Regions from separate parts of the Homo sapiens genome. Here all the other regions are linked to region 4. The links are contacts of gene promoters, found by promoter capture Hi-C in human tissues and cell types (Jung and others, 2019). All regions are on one chromosome and are shown on one strand. Each heading gives the region's core, a stretch centred on a gene start or on the middle of the fragment in contact. The rest is flanking DNA. Distances are from core to core; before and after follow the strand shown.

What was found. The method cuts DNA at HindIII sites, captures the fragments that hold promoters and counts their contacts. A contact is called where the count stands out against the background at its distance.
Region 1: a fragment that was not itself captured here is called in contact with the fragment with the promoter of STAT4 in region 4 in 1 of the 25 tissues and cell types used here (IMR-90 fibroblasts).
Region 2: a fragment that was not itself captured here is called in contact with the fragment with the promoter of STAT4 in region 4 in 1 of the 25 tissues and cell types used here (IMR-90 fibroblasts).
Region 3: a fragment that was not itself captured here is called in contact with the fragment with the promoter of STAT4 in region 4 in 2 of the 25 tissues and cell types used here (lymphoblastoid cells and spleen).

The regions. Positions count from the first base shown.
Region 1 is chr2:191,417,897-191,421,911 of GRCh38, forward strand. All of the region lies in intron 30 of MYO1B (myosin IB), which reads left to right. Among named protein-coding and RNA genes, the nearest start is that of MYO1B-AS1, 170 kb to the left of the region's middle. The HindIII fragment of the contact is 6,261 bases long and covers 1-4,015 here.
Region 2 is chr2:191,476,829-191,480,664 of GRCh38, forward strand. No RefSeq gene overlaps it. Among named protein-coding and RNA genes, the nearest start is that of NABP1, 200 kb to the right of the region's middle. RefSeq lists an enhancer at 2,114-3,014. The HindIII fragment of the contact is 4,499 bases long and covers 1-3,795 here.
Region 3 is chr2:191,570,691-191,574,519 of GRCh38, forward strand. No RefSeq gene overlaps it. Among named protein-coding and RNA genes, the nearest start is that of NABP1, 110 kb to the right of the region's middle. The HindIII fragment of the contact is 6,727 bases long and covers 1-3,829 here.
Region 4 is chr2:191,149,543-191,153,074 of GRCh38, forward strand. STAT4 (signal transducer and activator of transcription 4) reads right to left here and starts at 1,452. Exons shown (of 24, transcript NM_003151.4): 1 at 1,405-1,452. RefSeq lists a silencer at 1,092-1,141 and enhancers at 1,612-1,661, 1,792-1,871. The HindIII fragment of the contact is 8,161 bases long and covers 1,177-3,532 here.

The sequences.
Region 1 (4,015 bases), core at 679-3,178, 270 kb after region 4:
AGGTGTGCCATCTGGGAAAGGGGGACAGTTCGCTTCTGGGCAGCAAGGGCCCTGCCCTGTCACAGAGGGCGTGTGATGTTCTGGATGCCATAAGCTTTCAGTAAACAGTTGTCTGAGCGAAGATTTATAATGTGGCCACATGAAGAAAACAAACATTGGGTAGCATTATAATGCCTTTCATTCTCCAGTGCCTAATTATTGATTGGTCTCATAAAAATAAAACAGTTCATAGGACTCTACATAGCACCCGTGGGTCCCTTCCCCAGGTGGCACAGGAAGCCTGCAGAGGAAGTTTGTAGGTAAGGATCGTAAATCTCCTTAGGGAGCATTTTGAATTTAAACGAAAATGTCCAAAGTCATAGGCAGGGGCGCCTGTTCCTTTATGTGTCAGCCCTAAGTGGCTTCGCTAGCTCTATAGAACCAGTGTTGAAAACCACATGCAGTTTAGTGACTAAGCCCTTCCTTGCTTTTTCCTTCCCAGAAGTAGAAGTAGTTACTCTAACAAACCTAGATTCTGTAATCATTATGGATAAGTGGATGTCAGTTTATGGAAAGAGAGTCAAAGTCCTGTTTACTCTTTAGTGGATTTTTTTTTTTTTTTTTTTTTTTTGAGGCAGAGTTTCGCTCTTGTTGCCAAGGCTGGAGTGCAGTGGCACGATCTTGGCTCACCGCAACCTCCGCCTCCCGGGTTCAAGGGATTATTCTGCCTCAGCCTCTTGAGTAGCTGGGATTACAGGCATGCACCACCACGCCTGGCTAATTTTGTATTTTTAGTAGAGATGGGGTTTCTCCATGTTGGTCAGGCTGGTCTCGAACTCCTGACCTCAGGTGATCCGCCCCCCTGGGCCTCTGAAAGTGCTGGGATTACAGGCGTGAGCCACCGCGCCCAGCCTGTTCAGTGGAATTTAAACTTGTACATATAGAAGTGAGAATTGAATTCATTCAGAGATTCAGCTGCCTTATAGTTTCTAGTCCTTAAACTTCTAAGCTGTTCAATGTGTAACTAGATTGCATTTTAAGGATAACCTGCAAGATGTGTAATGCAGTTATGCACCACATAATGACATTTTGGTCAGCAATGGATTGCACAGATGACGGTGGTCCCCTAAGATTGTAATGGAGCTGAAAAATTCTTCTGTCTATTGATGTCACAGGTGTTGTAATGTTATAGTGCAAGGCACTACTCACATGTTTGTGCTGCTGCTGGTGTAAACAAACCTACTTCACTGCCAGTTGTCTACAAGTAAAAGCACATACAATTATGTACAATATGTAACTCTTGATAATAAATGATGTTGTTACTGGTTTATGTATTTATTATACTATACTTTTTTTTTTTTGAGACTCAGTCTTGCACTGTTGCCCAGGCTGGAGTGCAGTGGCGTGATCTCGGCTCACTGCAAGCTCCGCCTCCTGGGTTCATGCCATTCTCCTGCCTCAGCCTCCCGAGTAGCTGGGACTACAGCTGCCCGCCACCACGCCCGGCTAATTTTTTGTACTTTTAGTAGAGGTGGGGTTTCATCGTGTTAGCCAGGATGGTCTCGATCTCCTGACCTTGTGATCTGCCCGCCTCAGCCTCCCAAAGTGCTGGGATTATAGGCGTGAGCCACCACGCCCGGCCTATACTGTACTTTTTATCTTTATTTTAGCGTGTATGCCTACATGTTAAAAAAGTTAATAGTAAAACAGCCTCGGGCAGGTCCTTAAGGGGGTATTTCAGAAGGCATTGTTATCTTAGGAGAAGACAGCCCCATGTGTATTATTACCCCTGAAGACTTTCCAGTGGGACAAGACATGGAGATAGAAGACAGTGAAATTGATGCTCCTGACCCTGTGTAGGCCTAGGCTAATATGTTTGTATCTTAGTTTTTAACAAAAAGTTTAAAAAGTAAAAATAAAAAAAATTAAAATTTTAAAAATAGAGAAAAGCTTATAGAATAAGGTTATAAAGAAAATATTTTTGTACAGCTATACAAAGTATTGTGTTTTAAGCTAAGTGTTATTACAAAAGAGCCAAAAAACAGCCGGGCCCAGTGGCTCACGCCTGTAATCTTGGCACTTTGGGAGGCCAAGGCTGGTGGATTGCTTGAGCTTAGGAGTTCAATACCAGCCTGGGCGACATGACGAAACCCCTTCTCAACAAAAAAATTAAAAAATTAGCCAGCCATGGTGACACACACCTGTAGTCCCAGCTTCTCAGGAGGCTGAGGTGGGAGAATCATCTGAGCCCGGGAAGGTCAAGGCTGCCCTGAGCCATGATTGCTCCAGTGAACTCCAGCCTGGGAGACAGACCAAGACCCTGCCTCAAAAACAAAACAAAAGTGTCAAAAATGTTTTTAAAATTGTAAAGTTTATAAAGCAAAAAGTTACAGTAAGCAAAGGTTAATTTATTATTGAAGAAAGAAAAAATTACCTATAAAGTATACCGTAATGTAATGTCCTAGGCCTTCACATTCACTAACAACTCACTCACTGACTCACCCAGAGCTACTTCCAGGCCTGCAAGCCCCATTCATGGTAAGGGCGCTAGACAAGTACACTATTTTTTATCTTTTATGCTATTCTTACTGTACCTTTTCTATTCTTACTAAGTTTACACATACAAATACCATTGTGTTACAGTTACCTACAGTACAATAACACGCTGTAGCATCTAGGTTTGGGTAAATGCACTCACTCTATGATGTTTGCACAATGACAAAATCACCTAGTGATGCATTTCTCAGAATGTATCCCTTTTATTAGATGATGCATGACTATATTTCTAAAATCAAGTTCCCAAATAGAGTAAAAACTAAAGTGAATTTGTTTCATTAAACATTTTAAATATATGTGTGTGTATATACATATAGGTATACACGTGTGTACAATAGATACACATATATCATTTAAGTTATACAATTGGTTTTCTGAATATTTGAAATCCAAACAACTAATCCATGTTCCTTTTACCTTGAAATTCTAACTGGTATGAATGCCATGAAATAATACATTCCATGTTATTGTTTGTTGGAGGAGGATTTTCTCTTTTCTATGAGGTGAAGATAAATAATAGTGCTTACCTCCTAGGATTGTCTTAAAGCCTGATCTAATAACATAGTAAATGGCCAAGCACAGTGTGGTATGTAGCAAATCCTCAATATATCTTGCCTATTGTTATTTCTAGTGTGAATCTTTTTTTTTTTTTTTTTGAGACAGAGTCTTGCTCTGTCGCCTAGGCTCGAGTGCAGTGGCGAGATCTCGGCTCACTGCAACCTCTGCCTCCTGGGTTCAAGGGATTCTCCTGCCTCAGTTCCCCGAGTAGCTGAGGTTACAGGCATGCACCACCACGCCCTGCTAATTTTTGTATTTTTAGTAAAGACGAGGTTTCACCGTCTTGGCCAGGCTGGTTCCAAACTCCTGACCTCAGGTGATCCGACCACCTCAGCTTCCCAAAGTGCTGGGATTACTGTCATGATCCACCGTGCCTGGCCTCTAGTGTGAATATTAATCAGGAATTATAGACATGGAAACAGTTAATGTAGGCCAAGGTTATTGGGGAAAGAAGTTCCTATACATTTATTACACTTACAAGTGGTCTTTTTTATTTATTTTGAGGCAGAGTCTCCCTCTGTCACCCAGGTCAGAGTCCGGTGGTGTGATCCCGGCTCAATGCAGCCTCCTCTGCCTCCTAGCTGCAAACGATTCCCCTGCCTCAGCTTCCCGAGTAGCTGGAATTACAGGCATGCACCACCGTCCCTGGCTAATTTGTGTATTTTTAGTAGAGACGTGGGTTTGCCATGTTGGCCAGGCTGGTCTCGAACTCCTGGCCTCAAGTTACCTGCCTGCCTTGGCCTCCCAAAGTGCTGGGATTACAGGCATGAGCCACTGTGCCCAGCCACAAGTGGTCTTTGAAAATAAAAATGTGAAAGTGTTTGATTTTTAAAATGTGTGAATTTTCAATAAACCTGAAAGATTTTTTTTGAGACACATACATACAAGTATATATGCCAGAGATATATCTCAGGTAGTTGAA
Region 2 (3,836 bases), core at 296-2,795, 330 kb after region 4:
GTTTTCTCATCTGTAAAAGACAGAGGTTAAGTAAGAGATGTAGAGTAGGTTATTCTCACTCTTCAATTCTGTGATGCTAGGACTTCCCTAAATGTGATTCTCTGAAGGTTAAATAGTCTCCACTCCCTCAACTATTCCTCATACGATGTTTTCCAAGATTATGTACCACACATGTGCCTTCCGTTGCGTGGATTCTACTTTGTCAACGTCCACTTCAAAACATAGCATACAGCACTGTGATGCCCAGAATGAATGTAATACTCCAGACATGCACCCGCCAGAGGGCAGACTCTGAGGCAATATCCTTTACCTAGATATTGTACTTCAATTGGTGCAGCACAAAGCTTCATGAGTTGTTTTCCAGTCACACCATAGGTTCAAAGCCTTGTTTGCATGAACTCTTAATCTATCCATGTATTGTTAATTGATCTATCCTATGTATTGTTGATACAGGAGTTAAGAAAGAATTACTTCGGCAGATAGCAAGGGCATGTGAGTCCTCAGTAAGGCTTTTCTTTTTAATGAAATGCAGCCCCAAATCATTTCTAACAGAACAGCCTGCAAGCTGTGAGCTTGCATGGACGAATGCTGGCAGGAACTAAGGACTAGACATTTTCTTTTTTTTATTTTTGGAGACGGAGTCTCGCTCTGTCACCCAGGCTGGAATGCAGTGGCGCGATCTCGGCTCACTGCAAGCTCCGCTTCCTAGGTTCAAGCCATTCTCCTGCCTCAGCCTCCTGAGTAGCTGGGACTACAGGCGCCCGCCACCACGCCCAACTAATTTTTTTTTTTTTTGTATTTTTAGTAGAGACGAGATTTCACCGTGTTAGCCAGGATGGTCTGGATCTCCTGGCCTTATGATCCGCCCACCTTGGCCTCCCAAAGTGCTGGGATTACAGGCGTGAGCCACCGCGCCAGGCCAGGACCAGATATTTTCAAGATGGCGGCTCCATCTTCCCTTCTCTGCCCAGCCCGGTGTGCTGTAAGGAGCAGACAAGATGGCACTGATCAACTTGCATAGGAAGATTAGGGTGGGACAACTAGCCTTCCCCACGTGCTATGTAAACATCATACCTAATCAAACTAATCTATGAGTCCTATGAAAATCGGACATCCCCTCCTCAAACTGGACTATGAAACTCGGCATATTCGCCATCAGCAGGCCCCTTCCACTTGGAGACCTCTCTTGGGCACCCCGCTTTCTCAGCATGAGGAAGCTTTCTCTCTCTCTCTTCTTCTTTGTCTATTAAACTTTCTGCTTCTAAACCCACTCCTTGTGTGTGTCCGTGTCCTAAATGTTCCTGGCACGCGAAGACAAAGCCCAAGGTATATGCCCCAGACAACAAAGCCGCTTCATTGTAAGTTTATGCAATTGATTGAACCTAAATGGAAGACCTGATACTTGTTCATGTAAAATTTATCTTAATATTCACAGAAGTATCTAGCATAGTCAATAAGTATTTGTTGAATTGAATAGATTTTCATTTTGCTTTGGGCTGTCAATACAACTTTAGAAAAGCTTTCTGAATTTTTATTAATTTAATATTTTATAATACTTAAATCTTTCTACTCTAAAAAGTGATTTAAGAACCTTGATTCAGCATTCCCTCTCAGCTGTGTGATTTCCACAAATCAGACAGATATCGTATTTCTGTACCCATAAGGAATGTGACCTAGAAAAGGCATTGACCTGGGGTTTGCCACCAGCTTTCTCCATTAATAAGTTATGTCCTGCTAATAACAGTGTTAAATGTAAAGGTCACAAAGCACACTAAAATCGAAAAACAGAATCTTCAATGTGCAGATTTTCAAACATAAAAATAATAACATGGTCATTTCATTGAAAGATTCACCAGTGCAAATCCTACATGGAATAGGAGATGTAAAATTCCCTGAACCACTCGGAAAGTGTGACCACGCTGACAGGCTTGAATCTCAAATTTTAATTAAGGCCATCTTGCTTTTTGTGAAGAATTTTAAAAGCTGTTCTAAATTGGATTGTTCGGGGTGGTTTCCATGCACTCACAAGGATAACACCGGCAGCTGAATAGAAAACTCTAAGAACCAGGAGGCTCATACACTGCACTGATACCGATTCTCCTTTTTTTACCCCAGAAGCCACGCCCAGCCTTCAAGCATCTGTCCGTACATCATTACACAGCGCCTTCCCTTCCCCCTTAGCAGATAGAAGGTTATAAAGAGGTGGTGCCAAGAGGGACAAAAGATTCTCATAATTGTATTTTCCAGCAATTTTTTTCTTTTAATTCTGTGCTCTTCAAAAACTACAGGAGTGACTGCATGTAAATAGACCTCTCTGATGGATGGCTGATTGCCATTGACTCTTTGCAAATTTAATCCATTAAGTGCCTCCTATAGAAAGAGAATACAATGCCCTACAATGCAGAGGGTCAACCTTAGAAAATAAAACACAACCTGAATGGGGCAGTGCAAGAAGAGAAATCCACACAGCCTCTGATGGTAAAAAGCTCTTTGTTGTTTACTTATTTTATTATTTCAGAAGGAAAGCTAAATCAGGAGTCTGATGCTTGTGCTAATCTTTTTCTTTCCTTTTTTCCCCTCCCTCAGGAAGGAAGCCATTCAGGCAACAATCAGGCTCTTATCTTGGGCTTCTTATCATTAACCAGAGGAGCCTGTGCTGGAAATGAAATTCAGAGGCACGGCCAGGAAAGGCTGTTTCCCTAATTGAGCGGCTGCCTTTTGAAATCTTGTCTCCCCAGCGGAGCCTGGAGCTGGCTAGGTCTCCCTGGCCAAGATCACTCATTGTGTAATCTCTCACACACCAGGAGCAGATGCTCCTCGACTGGAGCTTTTATGAAAGGCCTTTAATAAGGCTTCTCAACCTGCCACACGTTGGGCAGCCAGAGGGAGGGGCAGTTTTCAGAAAAGCCTCTGATCAAGGAGTTCAAGACTCTAGACGCGTTTGGGCTTTGCCGTCAGATGTACTTCAGTCAAGATTCTGCAGTTTGGGGGAATTCTCAGCACCCTGAGGGGACTTCCCATTTCATCCCCTCCCTTGCTTTCCCCTGCCTTGCCTTCACAGGGTTGTGGTCAAGTTTAAATGGCATTGTGTATAGAAAGGACTTGACGCAGATTAAGGGTGTAGTAAATAATATTACAATAAATGTATTCTGTTGACTTACTGGGGTCCTATCATTCTCCATCATCCATTGCTGGTCTCTATCCCTTGGCTAACATTCTCCCTGCTTCCCTGGTGAATCTGATACTCAATCTTGGCTCTACGAGTGCTCAGTTTTAAGAACAAGGACTCTGAGCCCTGGGTATGGAAATTGCCTTTCTTTGCCTGGGCAGATAGACCCTGGGTAGGGAAGAAGGTAGGATTTGGGTATTTCAGGAAATTACCAATGCCTGGCACTCCCAGACTGACATCTCAGGGAGAAATGAGGCACACCAACATGGCCTTACATGATAGAGGCCCCCACCACCTCTCAAAATCTATCTCCCACCCTTTTCCTACTGGCTTACTACTCTCCAATCACATTGTCCTATTTGCTCTTCTCTAGACCCTCTGTGAATGTTCCTGCCTCAAGGCCTTCGCCTGTGCTGTTTCCCCTGCCTGGAAAGTCCTTTCTCCATACTCTCACCTGGCTGGCTGCTTGTTCTCATACAGTCTCTGCTCTCATATCAGCAAAGCCTTCCTTGGACACTATCTAAAGTAGCCCTCTTCTTCCATGTAATCTCAGTCACCCTGCTTTACATTCTACAGAGCACCTATTACTATCCAAAATTATGCTACTTATTAATTTGCTTGTGTGTAGAATAATTAGGGCAAAGTCTCTGTCTTGTTCTTTGCTAAT
Region 3 (3,829 bases), core at 1-2,500, 420 kb after region 4:
TATCAATAATTCATTCCTTTTTACTCCTGAGGATTAATCCACTGTATGGATCCATCACAGTTTGTTAATCCATTGAGGAATCATTCCTTCTGTTTTGTTTTATAAGATCACGAAGCGTTAGATGTGTAAGGGGCATTATAGGTCACTTAATCTAAGAAAATCATCAGTTATCTGTAGTTATCTACCTACAGATTAGGTAACTGAAGCCAGAACACTACTTAAGAATTTCCCTGGAAATTGTTTAAAATTGAGATTCATACCTATTCCTGCCGTTTGATTCTGATGGTGGAGTGAATCCTGGGATTCTGCAGTTTTAGCAACAGCCTCTGGTGATTCTAATCCAGATATATGGTCTACTATACTTAAAACACCGAATTATTTAAATATTGAGGTCGTAGAAGGTTAGGAGCAAAGGCTGGATTTAAATCCACAATTTTTGATTTCTAAGTTTAGGGCTCTTTCTACTACATTATGTCAACCCCAAATAACATCAGACACATGGAAGCCTGACGCTGTCTGCTAGCGTAAATCTCTTTGTTTTCTCATCAAAGAAATGCCACAGCTCGATTCCAGGCTACATTCTTGTGTTTCCAGAAGAGGGTACTGATAACAAATCCTTTCTTTAATGCACGTATTTCTTTCTCTTACTCTCTCTCCCCACCCCCTCTCTCCTCCCTTCTTTCTTCCTCTGCTTGTTTTTGTTTTGTTTTGTTTCGTTTTGGGTTTTTTGTGGGGTTTTTTTTCTGGTCATTAAAGTTGCAAATATGAAAAGCAACAAAGTGAGACCTGGGAAAATGAGTTTACTTCAATAAAAAGCCAAAGTCCCTGGAGAAATTTCTTGACATCATTACATTTTTAATACAAACTTGCCTGTAAGTGCTGTCACTTACTGGCTTCCAGTCACTAATTTTATGAGTCAGCACTTTCCCTCAGTGACTTCCTCAAAATTATAGGAATAGGAGGGGCTGGACAGAACATGCAGAAGTAAGAATGCTGAAAATTTAACCAGAGCTGAAGAAACGTTGACCTTTAGGAACAACAATGACCAAAAATGTCATCTAGTTATCTTACTCCCTATCTCTTTCCATTGGGTAGTTAGGGAGGAAGCCATAAGCCTAACTTGGTATATATATATATATATATTTTTTTTTTTTCCCTTAAGTTATTATAATTCCAGTGACCCTTGGGCTGCCTTCCTCCAAACTCTGAAAATTTGAACTCAGGCAGTGGGGCCTGAACCCTTACTTGATACCTGGTGTCTGAGAATGTTGTTTCTAAGCAAGGATATCAAGATCATGAAAAACCAAGCAGTAACATATCAAATGAAAGAAGAGACATGAGTCCAACTCAAGCTGCCAGAAAAATTTAATTCATCTTTGATAGTTTGGGCATTTTCCTAACAATATTTTTATGACAAATTGGGTAATTCAAATGTGCTGGCTACCTTTGAAGCCCTAGAATGAAAGTGAGCTTTTGCCTCATGAGATAAAATAAGACAAGGCTTTGAGAATTCAGTCGCCCCACCCTGGGTAGAATTGTGAGAAGGCACACTGTGTCCCTAGGACCCTCAGACTCACTTCTTTGAAACCTTTTCTTTCCCCACTCTTACCAGGTATGGGGGCTCCATTGCTCTCCTCATTGGATCCTTAGTGTGAGTGACACAGAGTCTTATTATCCTATGCTGTCTACGTTTGCATTTGAACATTAATTGTGGCAATGACAAGCTTTGTCTTTGAGTCACAAGGCTTGGAAATAAGACAGAAGATTGGTAATTAGAAGTTCTAATCTGTGTTCATCTACTTATCACTTGTGGGCCCTTAGGCGAGTCATTTAACCTTTATGAGTCTATTTTCTCATGTGTCAAATAGTAACGATGATAGTAATATGCACATTTGTGAGTGGCTATAGGGACTAGAGATTAGGTATATAAAGTACCTGGTCCATAAATGGTAGTTAAAGGCATGTCGGCCATGCGGGTGTCAGGCATGCAGATGATGGAAAATTTGGGACTTCTCCTATTGACAAGAGGACTTTTCTAGTACAACTGAAACTGGCTTATTAGAATGGAGAGTGGTAGCTGCCTACTCAATTAGGGTGGGCCTATGTGTTTTGCCCTAATGCCTCATGTCTACCTAATTTCTCTTTGTGTCCATTGTAATCATGGAGCCCGAATCTTTGGATCATTTATGAGAGTCATAAATCTAACTGGGTGAAAGTGGAATTGAGAAGAGACTCCAATGTATTTGTGAGACCAGGTACTTAAGGGTTGCTACATTTGAAACACAATTATAGAATACATACATATACAGAATGACAAATGATTTCCACAAGTTTGACAAGGAAACTAATCTTATTACTTTATGGTCACACTTCTGTGACAATGCAACTTAATTTTGCCAAAATGTATTTCTATGTTTATGCACATATACATGCTCCTCAATGGCCTATTTCTATACTCACCCAAATTGTATATAATCACAAAAAAACTGTCTTTTTTACAATACAGTTTATTTATTGCACTTCTTAAAGGCAGAAACATTCATTGTGATTTCTGTTCTCAGGTAATGAGAAGCTGTGATAGATATTAACAGAAGAAACTTTGAGTGGAAAGTTCTCCAGATTTTCTCACTGCCTCTCTCCAAATTTGATATGCTGTAATATTTTTAGTCTTATTATTATAGTGTCAGGGTGGAGATGAATCATATTGAGAGGAAGAGGTAAAGTGTTAGACTCTAAAAGTGTGTAAACAGCCATCAAGGGAAATTCTGAAGCATCCTAGTGCTTGGGGAAGGTTTAAGGAGTTTATTCTTGGCACCGTTGCCTATAATCCATAATTAGCAACCCATTGATATGGTATTTGTTAAATTCCTACATTGTAGGTTAAGACTATTGAAATTGCAGTACACCAGTGGGAAAACAGACTACAATATTCACACTGGCATAGATTTCAGTCTCTGGGAGTAGGTAGTTTGCCTGAAGCCAGATAGTTCTTAGGAATCAATAACCTCATTAGCCCCAGGAGACTGGATCTCTATACTTTGTAGAGTGGTACAGTTGCTGGAACATCTGCCAATGGGCACCTGCCTTAGTGGAAAGAGAATTATTTTTTTGTAGGCATTAAAGCTCAGAATAATTCAAAAACATTCCTCTAGGTACTGAACAACTATTTATCAATCTTACAGATGGAATTATTGCTGTCTCTGCCCGAAAGCCTTTGTTGACGTCTCCTTCCAATCAGTCAGCTCAGGGTTTAATCTGGTTAATCCCACAGAGCAATGGAGTTCTTTTTCTGCCATAGCTTTTCCTTAGTCCAAGGAGAAGGAAGAAATATTTAGATTCGTGAGAGGTCTGTGTTCTCCAGCACGCTGCTGCAGTATCAGAAATACACGGCAAAAATGAAGCAACTTGTTTTCCTTCTTCAAGGGGTAGATGAGAAATAGCTGCAGTTTTTCAAACTGTGGAAAATGTAACTATGTATGTTTCTGCTGCATGGTATAACTGACTGTCAGGTGTGGATCAGAAGCTAGTTGATGATGATAATGAAATATGTCATTATTTCCCCATTTCTAGAAGTGCTCAGTGTGAGCAGACAGTAGATCCAAAGCATAGAGTAATTAAGACCAGGCCCTAATAAAACTCAGATCCGAAGGTTGTCTTGGCTCTACCTATCAACTTCTTTTTCTATCAGTTAAAATATGTGTGGAATGTAATGATAATCTGAGTCATATTAGTGGCATGAAAGAGAGGAAAAAAGGATGGATTCAGCGATACTAAAAAGGTAGTCTCAGGAGGATTTGGTGACTGTGTTAGTTTCCTAGTGCTGTCACAA
Region 4 (3,532 bases), core at 202-2,701:
GGTGGATATAAGTAGTATGTCAACTTTAAAAAGGAAAAACTTGAAGATCAAATAGGCGAAATGACGCCTGCCTAATGTGTGAGGCTTCTAAGGGACAACCTGAGGTTTCCTGAGTCTGAACCATTTGTTTTTCCAGATATCGGATGTATATATATTCCATCGGATGTGTATATATTCCACACAAAATTGGAACATTTGTTCTCATGCTACTATCAACATTGTCCTATCTATCAATTTATTTTAGTTAATGACAACAGAGAACATGAGTTGAAAATAGCATTACAGTTTTTCATCATACTATTGTTAAACCCCCGCTATGATTTGGATGAAAAATCTATTTTCTAACTAAAACTTACAGGTAGATGGGAGGAATAAGTTCTAGTGCTGTAACACTAGGATGAATATGGTTAACAATAACTTAGTGTATATTTTCAAAAAGCTAAGAGGATTTTGAATGTTCACAACACAAAGTAATGATAAATGTTTGAGGTGATGGATATGCTGAATATCCTTTGATCATAACACATTGTTCATATTTATTGAAATATCACTGTATATTCCATAAATATTTACAATTGTGTGTCAAATGAAAATAAAAGGAAAATTAAAAAAAATAAAAATAAACACCGAAAAAAATCACTACTAAGATCTGAGTCTTTCGGAGAGCTGAATTCAAAGCTGAAAAAAGGAAGAAGAAGGAATACATAGTCCTAGGACATTTTCTATTGCAGCCTCTGGGAACGCCTTTAGACATCCTTCAGCAGGTTTCTTTGCTTTCACTCTCTAGGGGCTACTTCTTTCTCATGAAAACTGTGACGTTGCTTCTGAAAACTCAGTGCCTGTCTGTCCTTTTTGCGTGCATTTCCTAGAAGATCCCACTAAAGGGGCATTTTGTCCCACCGTCTGTGAGCTGGTGGTGCCGCTTTGGCTCTGTGGCCTGTAGCTTGCAAAAGGAGATGACCTGCCCTAAAATGTCACTCGCGCCCATCAAAGCCACAGTCACCGGCTGCCGTAGCTGCAAGCTTTTTTCTGAAATCCAGGTACGCTAATCTAAAGTCAGACATCACAGCTCTAGAGAAGCTGGCTAAGAAAGTGAAGAGGGGCTCACTTTCAGCCTCCGCGAGGACACACCTCCGCAGCCGCCGCAGCTCCCCTGGCCCCCGCAGGGAGATTCGCCCGGGCACCGTGGCGCGGGCCTGCGGAGCGGTTTCCGCGGAGAACCCGTGCCAGGGCGCATCTGTGGGTCGTGGAGTCGGGCGCTTCCTTCTATAATAAGCCTCCTCAGGAAGGTTAAAATGAAGCAATTGTCAAAACGCCAAGGGAAAGCAAAGCTTCAGAGTATCCTGCATAATAAGCATGTCCTCCTTACAAGAGGCAGCCAGAAGGTGTGGTCTGGCCACTTACCTAGCGCTCTCTCAGCACAGGTCCCAGGCAGTGCTCAAGTCCAAAGTCAGAAGCGCCCCTCACAGTCCCTAGGAGAAAGCCGCTGACGCCATCATCAGTAGGGGATTTGCATTTCTCCTCCCACTTGAGGCTTTCCTGTGCGTCAGTGTTCGAGTCTCTGGGACTTTACTTGGGTCAGTTCCCACCCACTCTATTCTAGAAATGCTAACACGCAGAAACTGCCAGGCTGGAGCCCCTTCACCGGGCGTCCTCTTCCCTCTTATCCCTCCCAGCGGCTCTCGCAACTGCAGGTGGCTCAGCAGTGCCAGGAAAAAGGGGAGGGGCGGGGCATACATTTTCTTCAGTGGTTTCCTTAGACAATCTGAGATCCTCTGCAGAGTTACTTACCTGGAGCCCAGTTCTTCAGCTTCCTCTCTCCCTAGTATAAGGCTCCACTCAGCCTGGTGAACCACCCCTGGGATGGAAGGGATGGGTAGCCAGGATCAAAACACCAAACTCATAGACCTTACTGGGCTCCAATTCCAGCGGGGTCCGCTCACTCCGACGAGGGTGACCTGACCCAGAGGGTTGGGCCAAGTCCTGGGTAGGCCACCAGTGCTTGCCCTTCCTGACCTAGCCTCCTCCTACTCTCCTTGAGTAGCCTTGCCCCTGGTTGCTACGGTGCGTTCTTCTCCCTTTGTGACATCAGCCTGTTCTAGAATCACAGAGTTGGAGGAAGTCTTGGTCCCATCTAATGCTAAATCCTCTTTCATATCTGAAGAGACCCAGTGAGGTGACCAAGAGGACTCAATAAGTTAGCCACGGAGCCCGATAATAGCCCAGGTGTTTCCCTTCCCACTTCAGTGGTCTTTTCATTTCATCTCCTTGTAGTTAGCTCTTAACCCCTTGATTCACAGTAGGGGTTCAATAAAATAAAGAGAAGTCCAGGCGTGTGGCTCACACCTGTAATCCTAGCACTTTGGGAGGCTGAAGTGGAAGGACTCCTTGAGCCCAGGAGTTTGAGACCAGCCCAGGCAACACAGTAAAATCCCACCGTATATTAAAAAATCAATAAAAATGTTTAAGAAAGTAAAAATAGTAAAACAAAGACAAAAATAAAGACAGACAGACAGACTGAAAGAAAGGTAGAAAGTGTCACTCAATTTGGTTATACACATGCTTAGAGCAATATACCAAGGTGAAAGGCCTGCCTCCCTCTTCCCTGACGGGTTTCACACAGGTACACCCTCTGGATTCTTCTCTCCCAGGTGACATTATCATGTGCTTAAACTTACCACCCACCCCCAAATAGGTCAATCAATCCAAAGTCACACTTTCCATATCACTGTAAATTTCCTGGTTAGGTAGGCCTGGTCCCCACTGCTTGTTGAGCAGGCAGTTTCCAGGAGCTTATGCTGCTCTGACCCTACATAAGAAAGTGCCAATTTCAGGCTATTCCATAAGCTACTAAGCAAAGTCTGATTTTCTTCTGGAGAAGCTGTCACTGCCTATAGGAAAAAAATCCAAATTCTTGGCAGTTTAAGTTCTGTACAGTTTGGTCCCAACCTATCCAGGAAACTTTTCTCCCCTATAAGAGCCCATGATGTGACCCAAGCAGTCACCTCAGCTGCCCAGATTAACCTCATATTTCACTACCGAGGCTTTCTTCAACTGGATATTCCTCCCTGAGCCTACCTACTTAGTGAAATCCTATAGTTCTCAGTGAAGACTTCCCGATGACCTGAACCCACAGCAATGTTTCCCTGCTCCAAATTCTTCATACTTCCTGTCCAAACCAGCGCTCTCCAAGAGAAATAAAATGTAAGCCACATATGTAATTGTAAATTTTCTCATAGCCATATTAAAAAGGAAAAAAGCACAGGTGAAATTAATTTTAATATTGTAAATAACCCAATATATACAAGAATCTTAACATTTTGGCATATAATCAATATAAAAAATTATCAATAAGATACTTTGCATTCCTTATTTCATACTCAATCTCTGAAGTCTGGTGTATATTTAGCACTTACAGGGCATGTCAGTTAGGACTAGCCACATTCCAAGCCACATATGGCTAGTGGCTGCCGTGTTGGACAGTGCACATCTAGACCACTTATTTAGCACTTTTCACTTCCTGCCTCATAGT